3 separate regions of the Homo sapiens genome follow, and all the other regions are linked to region 3. Evidence: promoter capture Hi-C in 16 types of primary human blood cells and fetal thymus (Javierre and others, 2016). All regions are on one chromosome and are shown on one strand. The core of a region is centred on a gene start or on the middle of the fragment in contact, and the rest is flanking DNA. Distances in the headings are between cores, read along the strand shown.

Evidence for each region. The method cuts DNA at HindIII sites, captures the fragments that hold promoters and counts their contacts. A CHiCAGO score of 5 or more calls a contact.
Region 1: a contact is called between a fragment that was not itself captured here and the fragment with the promoter of MAP2K5 in region 3, in 2 of 17 cell types (M2 macrophages and fetal thymus). The highest score is 5.3, in M2 macrophages.
Region 2: a fragment that was not itself captured here is called in contact with the fragment with the promoter of MAP2K5 in region 3 in 3 of 17 cell types (activated CD4 T cells, fetal thymus and total B cells); the score reaches 5.4 in activated CD4 T cells.

Annotation. Positions count from the first base shown.
Region 1 is chr15:67,788,077-67,790,826 of GRCh38, forward strand. The region is part of intron 21 of MAP2K5 (mitogen-activated protein kinase kinase 5); the gene reads left to right. Among named protein-coding and RNA genes, the nearest start is that of SKOR1, 36 kb to the right of the region's middle. The HindIII fragment of the contact is 3,625 bases long and covers 1-2,750 here.
Region 2 is chr15:67,767,375-67,770,074 of GRCh38, forward strand. It overlaps MAP2K5 (mitogen-activated protein kinase kinase 5), which reads left to right. Exons shown (of 22, transcript NM_145160.3): 20 at 2,228-2,289. Among named protein-coding and RNA genes, the nearest start is that of SKOR1, 57 kb to the right of the region's middle. The HindIII fragment of the contact is 2,493 bases long and covers 129-2,621 here.
Region 3 is chr15:67,541,324-67,544,023 of GRCh38, forward strand. It overlaps MAP2K5 (mitogen-activated protein kinase kinase 5), which reads left to right and starts at 1,380. Exons shown (of 22, transcript NM_145160.3): 1 at 1,380-2,147. The coding sequence starts at 2,013. MAP2K5-DT (MAP2K5 divergent transcript) reads right to left here and starts at 1,307. Exons shown (of 1, transcript NR_186334.1): 1 at 1-1,307. RefSeq lists enhancers at 320-820, 473-522 and a silencer at 1,396-1,515. The HindIII fragment of the contact is 6,106 bases long and covers 994-2,700 here.

The sequences.
Region 1 (2,750 bases), core at 67-2,566, 250 kb after region 3:
TGAAATTCTGCTGGTCTGAGGCAGCTTCCTCTTCATGGACCTGCAAGTGTGTTGCCTTTGATGTTGATTTATATGTAATTAGGGAACTACTTTGCTTTATATATTTGAGTCCCTGGTTGCAAGCATTATTTACTTAAACAATGTATAGCTCTGGGGCCCCCAGGCCTTCTCCCCTTTTTTTTATATGGAGATAAGATGTTTCCAGAAATTTGATTTGGCCTCAGCCAGTCAGCAGCCTTTTGTCCTGCCTTCCACTCACCTCCTTGTATCACTGCTGGGTTATACAGGCTGTCCCCAGGAAGGTAGCCTCAGGCTGTCTTAAGTTTGGAAAGTATTTCTCTATTTTATAAATACTCTGCTTCATTATTGAAGGTAGATGGGTAAGAGAGTCACCTTGAGCAAGTTACTTCACCCCTGGAAACTTTAGTACCCACTGCATGGAAAGGGGATAATAGTGACCAATTTACTGTTACTGTTTTTGTAAAAAGGCAAATAAGGTGAAGCACATAAGCACTTAATATAGTAGTTGGAAAATAATAGGTTCATAAGCAATGTTTATTCCTGCCATCATCCATATTTATTTGCTAAAACTAGTTTTTAAATTATGATTAAAAATTTGGCCAGACATGGTGGATCATGCTTAATTCTAGCTCTTGGGGGGCTGAGGCAGGAGGATCACTTTCGCCCAGGAGTTCGAGACCCGCCTGGGCAACATAGTGAGACCCTGTCTCTACAAAAACTTAAAAACTAGTTGGACATGGTGGCACTGCCTGTAGTCCCAGCTTCTCAGGATGCTGAGGTGAGAGGATCACTTGAGCCCATGAGGTAGAGGATGCAGTGAGCCATGATTGTACCATTGCACTCCAGCATGGGTGACAGAGAGAGACCCTGTCTCAAAAAAAAAAAAAAAAAATTACACAGTACAGAAGGATATACAGTAAGAAGTTAGTCTCCTTCCAATCCTCCATATCTTCCAGCCCTAATCTCTAGAGATAAGCATTGTTAATAGTAGCTTGGGTATCCTTCTAGAATTTTTAATTCTTTTTATTCTGCACCTTGCTTTTTTACTTAGTGAGTCATTGAGGTCTTTCCATATAATATAAAGATCAACCTTATTCTTAATGGCTGTATAGTATTCCATACTATGGATGTATCATATTTATTTATCCAGGACCCTGTCATAGGATATTTTGACCATTTCCATATTTTTTTGTTATTAAGACAGTGACTGTGTCTCTATGTATACATCTTTGTATACTGGATATGAGAATGTTAGCTCTTCTTCTTCATCTCTTCTGATACTAAATTATCAGATTTTAATCTTTGCCAACCTAATCAGTGGCAAAATGGTATCTAGTTGGCCAGGCGTGGCGGCTTAACGCCTGTAATCCCAGCACTTTGGGAGGCCAGGTGGATCACCTGAGGTCAGGAGTTCGAGACCAGCCTGGCCAACATGGTGAAACACTGTCTCTACTAAAAATACAAAAATTAGCTGGGTGTGGTGGGGGGACCCTGTAATTCCAGCTACTCTGGAGACTGAGGCAGGAGAATTGCTTGAACCCGGGGAGGTGGAGGTTGCAGTGAGCCGAGATCGCACCATTGCACTCCAGCCTGAGCAACAAGAGCAAAACTCTGTTTCAAAAAAAAAAAAGGATCTAATCATTTTAATTTATGTTTATTTTATTAAGTATGAGGATTAACACTTCTTTCATATGTTTGTTGGTCACATTTTTTTTTTCACATTCTTTGCCTGTTTTTCTGTTGAATGTGTTGTCTCTTCCTTCATCTTGTTGAAGATTGATTTTTCCATCTAGACAGTGAAGGGGGTGGACACAATTTCCAAGGCCCCATCCCACTTCTGCAGTCTGTGGTCCAGGCCCGAGTGTCCTTTGGGCAGCTTTTACACTACCAAGGTGCTATTTGCTCATGACCTTGTCAAGCAACATTGAGGTTGAATAGCCAATAGCTGGGGGTAAACTACAAGAGAGTCGTTTTCTTTTCCCTTTGTTTGGTTGTGTATCTTTCTTCCACTCTTAAAAAAGCAGGCTTGGAAATTGCAAGGCAGAGCTGGATTGAACTTCCTTTAAAGCAGCCTGTAGACATCAGGAATATTTATTTTTTCTATTTGTTTTAAGCCTGGGAAGACTGTGTGGTTTTCTCAACACTGTCCTGATGGAGCCCTGACCAGCAAGCGTGCAATGCCCCTAGCCCTAATGTGCCATTAATGATAGGTTAATGTACAGTATAATGTTTTTGGGACTACGGGTTCATTACACTTCTGAGTGTGAGGTCTTTCCACAGAGCGCCCAAGGTCCCATTGCATTATATCATGCAATAAAAATACCCTTTTCATATCACACACTAATAAACTGTATTTGAAATGCTGTCTGAGGGCACTGCCGTCTTGTCTGTAGGCTGTGCACAAGTGCAACAGTTGGGATTCCTTTTTTCTATTTTGTGGTTTAGTTACATGGAATTCTAAACCCAGAAGTCTGCTCATTCTTGTTTTAAATGGGGAGCAAGTTGGGTCTTTAGGGCTGAGGCTCAGAGGAGGGGCTGCTTACTGAGTGGTGAGGGTCTTTAAGATGTGGAGAGCAGCCTTTAATTCTCTACTGCAGCTGTCAGGAGAGCCAGTCACATAAAAACAAACAAACAAAAAAAAAAAAACCTGTGTCCTAATGTCTGCCACACTTAGTGCTGAACATGTGTTAGGTGTTATAAAAGTTTCCTTAGAAAAGGAGTATGATAAG
Region 2 (2,700 bases), core at 125-2,624, 230 kb after region 3:
GTAAATATTGAACGACATTAAGATAGCAGGCTTTTATTTTCCTAAATATTGCATTTTACAGCAACTACTACTCAGATACTTTCAGTACTACACCCTCAAAAAAAATCCATGAAGCGATGACTTAGAGAAGCTTCCTCACTGATCAGAGTCCATCATTTTTACACCTCAGACTTTGAACTATCTTTTTACTAATGGTTTTTGAGACAGTAAAATGTCATTTCTTGAACTGGGCCTTGTAGAATCTTACAGGCTTGGTGATATATATGGCTTTCCTAAAACAGGCTGCAGCTGAAATTGATATCATGTTTTATTTTTGCTCTTCAAACCGATGGGACTTCTGTGGCCATTTTATATACCTTTATTGAGGACTTGTCATGCTATTTTGTGTCTTGTTTCTTTTGAGTGGACTGTTTGATCAGCCACCCATCCACCTCCGTTTTTCATGTCGTCTCTGTGTAATGCCTGCGTGTAATCCTTTGAACTTGGCAAGATTTTATTTCACTCCCATTTTTCCTTTGTTTTCTTTTCCTCTTAACCCTTCTCTACTGATGAGAATTTTAATTTTAGAATTGCTAACCATCCCTTCTTCTGGATGAATAGATTAAATTTAAAGAGGACAGATATGCAAAAACCAAGAAACATTTTGTTCATGTTTCTTTTCTTGTAGCCTCTTCGGTGTTTTTTGTTGTCTGTTTTTTGTTGTTTTTGTTTGTTTTTTGGCTGCCTTGACCCCCTTAGTTCCTTTTGATTTAATTGTATTTTCCAGCACTTTCCAATTGTTTGAATTGGAAACAAAGCCTTAATAAGAGTTCTAGTTAATTTTCTGTCTTGTAATTACCGATCTCATTTTTCTGATAATTGGCCACAGCAATTATATGTATATTTACTAATCACATAGGAGGCTGTGCAATTGTATCTATCTGCCACCATTGATAATGACACGCATATTGCAGAGGTGCTTTTATCATCTTCTTTTTTCCACTACATCAAAGCTATTTCCTCTCGTTCTCAATAATGAATACATGCATGCATTTGACACAGTTGTGTGCTAGAGAAATTGTTTGGCTCCCACCAAATGCTGCATGCTCTGAGTTTCTTGCCTGCAGCGCTGGAAGGTTGTATGTAATGATATATTGCTCATCCAAATGGCCAAAGCACTCCAAAGCACAGTGAGATTAAAATAAGTCATTCCTTTGTTAATTTAAATAGGTGCATGTATCATACTTTGCAGGGCACTTTGTGTAGGGATGTCAGGGAGGAAAAAAGCCGCCGAAAGGTATTTTTAATAGCAAATGAGAATAGATGAGAATGGAGTCATTTGCAGCTGCCTACTTTATGTGGCTCTCTTGTTCCAACTGTAGGTCTAATGAGATGACTGTTAAAGTACTCTGCAGTGTAATTTTATTACATCCTGAGCTGTTACACTATAAACACAGTGGCGCTCTCTGTCATTCTTGGAAAAACTCCTAAATTCTTAAAGCCTTCCTTTGCAAACGGTAATGGGGTTTGCTCTTTGTATTATGTGGTGGTGGTTGTTTGTTGCTGTGTAGTTTTCTGCTTTTTTGACTGACTCCCACCTCCATCCTAGTTTTGGTTGGTGGTCAAGTTGGGAGTTTTTCATTGTATCCTTAATTCACTGGCTTTCTCATATGAGGAGTCTGCCTAGACTGGCAAATAGGCTGAAATTCCTTTTCAGGAAACAACTTCCCCTATAAAAGCCTTTCTATTAAAGTAAAAAAAAAAAATTGATCCAAATTATTCTGTTAGGGGCAAACAGTAAAGAGCAGTTGAATATACAAATAAATGTAAATAAAAAGGAAAGTGTAAATAAATAGCAAATCCAGTAAAAGAAACAAAGGTCAACACAAGAATAATTTCACAGCTCTTTGTTAATTACAAGACCATTTGTGTGTTACTTAAATAATCATTAATTTCTCATTTACACTTTCCCTACCTTCTCTCCTACCCTGTGGCTATCATTGTCCTTTTTTCACCTCCCCCTCTCTCAGCTCTCATGTTTCTCACCATTGTAAAATATGTGTGGCTTTAAATTTGGCATCTTTACCTAAATGTGTGGAATAAGGTAAAGACAGTCTTTTTAATTGGGTGAGGCCTTATTCTCATTGTATTCATCTTTATACTCATCCTTCACATGGGTGGGTGGGGAATATAAAGAAAGAGAAGGAACTGTTGTGACTTTTGGTGACATGTTTTTCCTCCATCACAGGATTCGCCCGTCCTTCCAGTTGGAGAGTTCTCGGAGCCATTTGTACATTTCATCACTCAGTGGTGAGCCCGTTTACAAACATGCCATGCCCTCAATGTAAATGATACATGCCATTAACTCGGCAGCTCCGTGAGACCTTATGGCTCTCCCTGCATCCTTTTGGAGACAGGAGGGACTTCGGGGCCTTGGGCAGATGGGGCAGCAAAGCTGAAGAAATTGTTTAAATTATGTAAACGTTATTTACACAAAGGGTCATAAGCATACTTCAGAGCCTTTTTCCTGATTTAATAAACTGCTGAAAGTCATGATACTTCTTTAAGCACAAATACTGTTGCCATCCTTTTTTAAAAAAAGAAATACACAATTTTATAGCCCCTACTGAACGGACGTACGAAGCTTATTTTTATTAATGTAACCTCAAGTTACCCATAAAACTGTCTTGTCACTTAGTGGAAGCAGCATAGTTTATTAAT
Region 3 (2,700 bases), core at 130-2,629:
GCACCTTACTGTTAGAAGGGAAACTGACAAGCCTCCTCAACCGAGTTTATACAAAATTCAACCCCAGAAAGTAAAGCCAATTCGTGCACCTTCATAAGAAAGAAATAAAGGACGAACCTACACATTACAATTTGTAAAGAAACTTCTGTAGAGGCACCATCGTTCTACAACCTTATGCACTTTAAAATCTGAGGTAACAAGGCATTTGAAGATAACCAAGGTTGGCCGGGCGCGGTGGCTCACACCTGTAATCCCCCCAGCACTTTGGGAGGCTGAGGTGGGCGGATCACGAGGTCAGGAGTTTGAGACCAGCCTGGCCAACATAGTGAAACCCAGTCTCTACTGAAAATACAAAAATGAGCGGGCACGGATGGCGCACGCCTGTAGTCCCAGTTACTCGGCAGGGGTTGGGGGCTGGTGGGGGTGGTAGTGCTGAGGCAGGAGAATCGCTTGAATCCGGGAGGCTGAGGTTGTGGTGAGTAGAGGTCGCGCCGTTGCACTCCAGCCTGGGCGACGGAGCGAGACTCCGTCTCAAAAAAAAAAAAAAAAAAGATAACCAAGGTTTATTGCTACTTCCGTGATATCACCATATCACCAACTGCGTAAGCAGTGCTATTTAGTTGAAAATACATGGACTAGACCGAATATTTCTGCAACAGTTTAATAAGAGACGATGATGCGACTACTGCAGCTGTCCCCAGGCAATTAAACTCTTCGGCGAATTTCTTTACTATTGCTTTTGAACAGGGAACTGTTTGCTATTTTAGGGCACTCGTGCGGTAAAGAACTTCACTGAAAAATGCAAATATGTTTTGCTAATGTGGGAGAAAGATGATGATCCTCTGAACCTGTGACTTGGAAGGGGGGATAAAAAAGAACTATTTCTTGAATTCTTGCCTTGCTCTTGCTGATTCGATGCACACAACCCCACGAACATTCAGATTCATGGCTTGACAAAGTGGGGATAACCGGGAGCTGCAGCCCCGTCTTTGAAGCTTTTGTAAAGACAAACGGTCTGCAATGTTAAGCCTTAAATTGGCTTTTGGCGGACTCCAGCCTTTTACCCTTCGTTTGGTAGATGTTTTCACCTCGCTGTCATTAAGCAGGGTCAGGAAATGGAAGGGCCGTGACCGGGTCGCCGCGGGCGCTCTGTGGGCGATGAGGGTCTCCTGAGCGAGCAAGACCAGTCTCTCCCCGACTCGCCACGCGCCACGCGCCGCGCGCCGCGCGCCGGTTCCTCGGCTTCCCACGCCGGGGGCGCATCCTCCCGGGAGCTGCTGCCCTTTTCCAACATGGCGCCGCGGGAGGCGGGTCCCGCTCGTCGGCTCCCGGGGTTCCGGCGCCGCGCGTTTTGGTTCCGGAGTAACAGTGTCGCCGCCGCCTTCCTCCTCCTCCTCTCGCCGCTACCGCCGTCGCCGCCGCCGCAGCCGCCGCCAGTCCGCGCGGCCTCGGGTGGCCGGAGCTCAGCCTGCGCGCGCCGCGCCCTGTGTCTCCGGGTGGGGCAGAAGACTCGCCCCTTGAACCTCCCGCGGGGACTCTCCGTGGTGTGGCGGCCCTGGGGCTCTTTCTTAATAGCCCCGGACTGAGTCCCCTCCAGTCGAGGACCCTCTCCTAGTCCACTGACGAGCGGTGGACACCTGCCGCTGTATCTCCCCCAAACCGAGTCCTTGCCCTGCTGCCTCCTCATACCCACACGGCGGCAGAGACCTTCACCATAGCGTTCGCTCAACTCCAGAACCTTCCGACCTCCGCTAGTTCCTGCGGGCCTTTGCCCGCTTCCCGGTGCACCCTCCCCGGGAGACACCTCAGACCCCCGACAGCCTGGGCAGGCTCGGTGCCTGCGGGTGCGTTCCTGATCACCCCTCCCCTCTTCCCTCCCCCTCATCCTCCATTCCCTTGTTTTCACCCTCTGTCCTCTGCCCGTCACTCCCCTTGTCACCTCTTGGAGCCCCCTCCTAACCAGCGGCCAGTGGGTTTCCCATACCCCAGGATGTGAGCCTCTTTAACCTGTAATGCTGTGGCTAGCCCTTGGCCCCTTTCCTGCCATGGAGAACCAGGTGCTGGTAATTCGCATCAAGATCCCAAATAGTGGCGCGGTGGACTGGACAGTGCACTCCGGGCCGCAGTTACTCTTCAGGGATGTGCTGGTGAGTGGTAATCTCAGTGTCCGGATGCCAGCAAGGGGGACTCAGGGACTTGAGTAGTCAGCACCTTGACCACTGGTGACCTGAGCCAGTGGCAATGGCTACTGCTGGCTTCCTGTGGAGGCAGTTTTATTGCTTCAGGCACAGCATTGATAAATTGCAACCACTAAAACCTGGCAAATGTCTAGGACCCTGGGGAGATAGATCAATCTGACTGAACCCCTGCCCTCAGAGAGCTCATGGCCCGGGCTGGGACACACATATAGACACAACCACGCAAATGCAAACTGCTGAATCTAGAAGAGAGGTTTTTTCCCCCCAAGTGTTTCGGGGAATGTCCTTGGACAGATTCCAGCCTTGTTTTTCTACTGAGTTCTCTGAACTTGGTGACCAGCTGAGAAAGGGAAAAAGGACAACTTTAACTTACCATGTTTGAGCACACTGTTTCATTAATTTATTTTGAGACAGGGCCTCACTCTGTCGCTCAGGCTGCAGTGCTGTGGCACGATCTCGGCTCACTGCAGCCTCTGCCTCCTGGGCTCAAGCGATTCTCCTA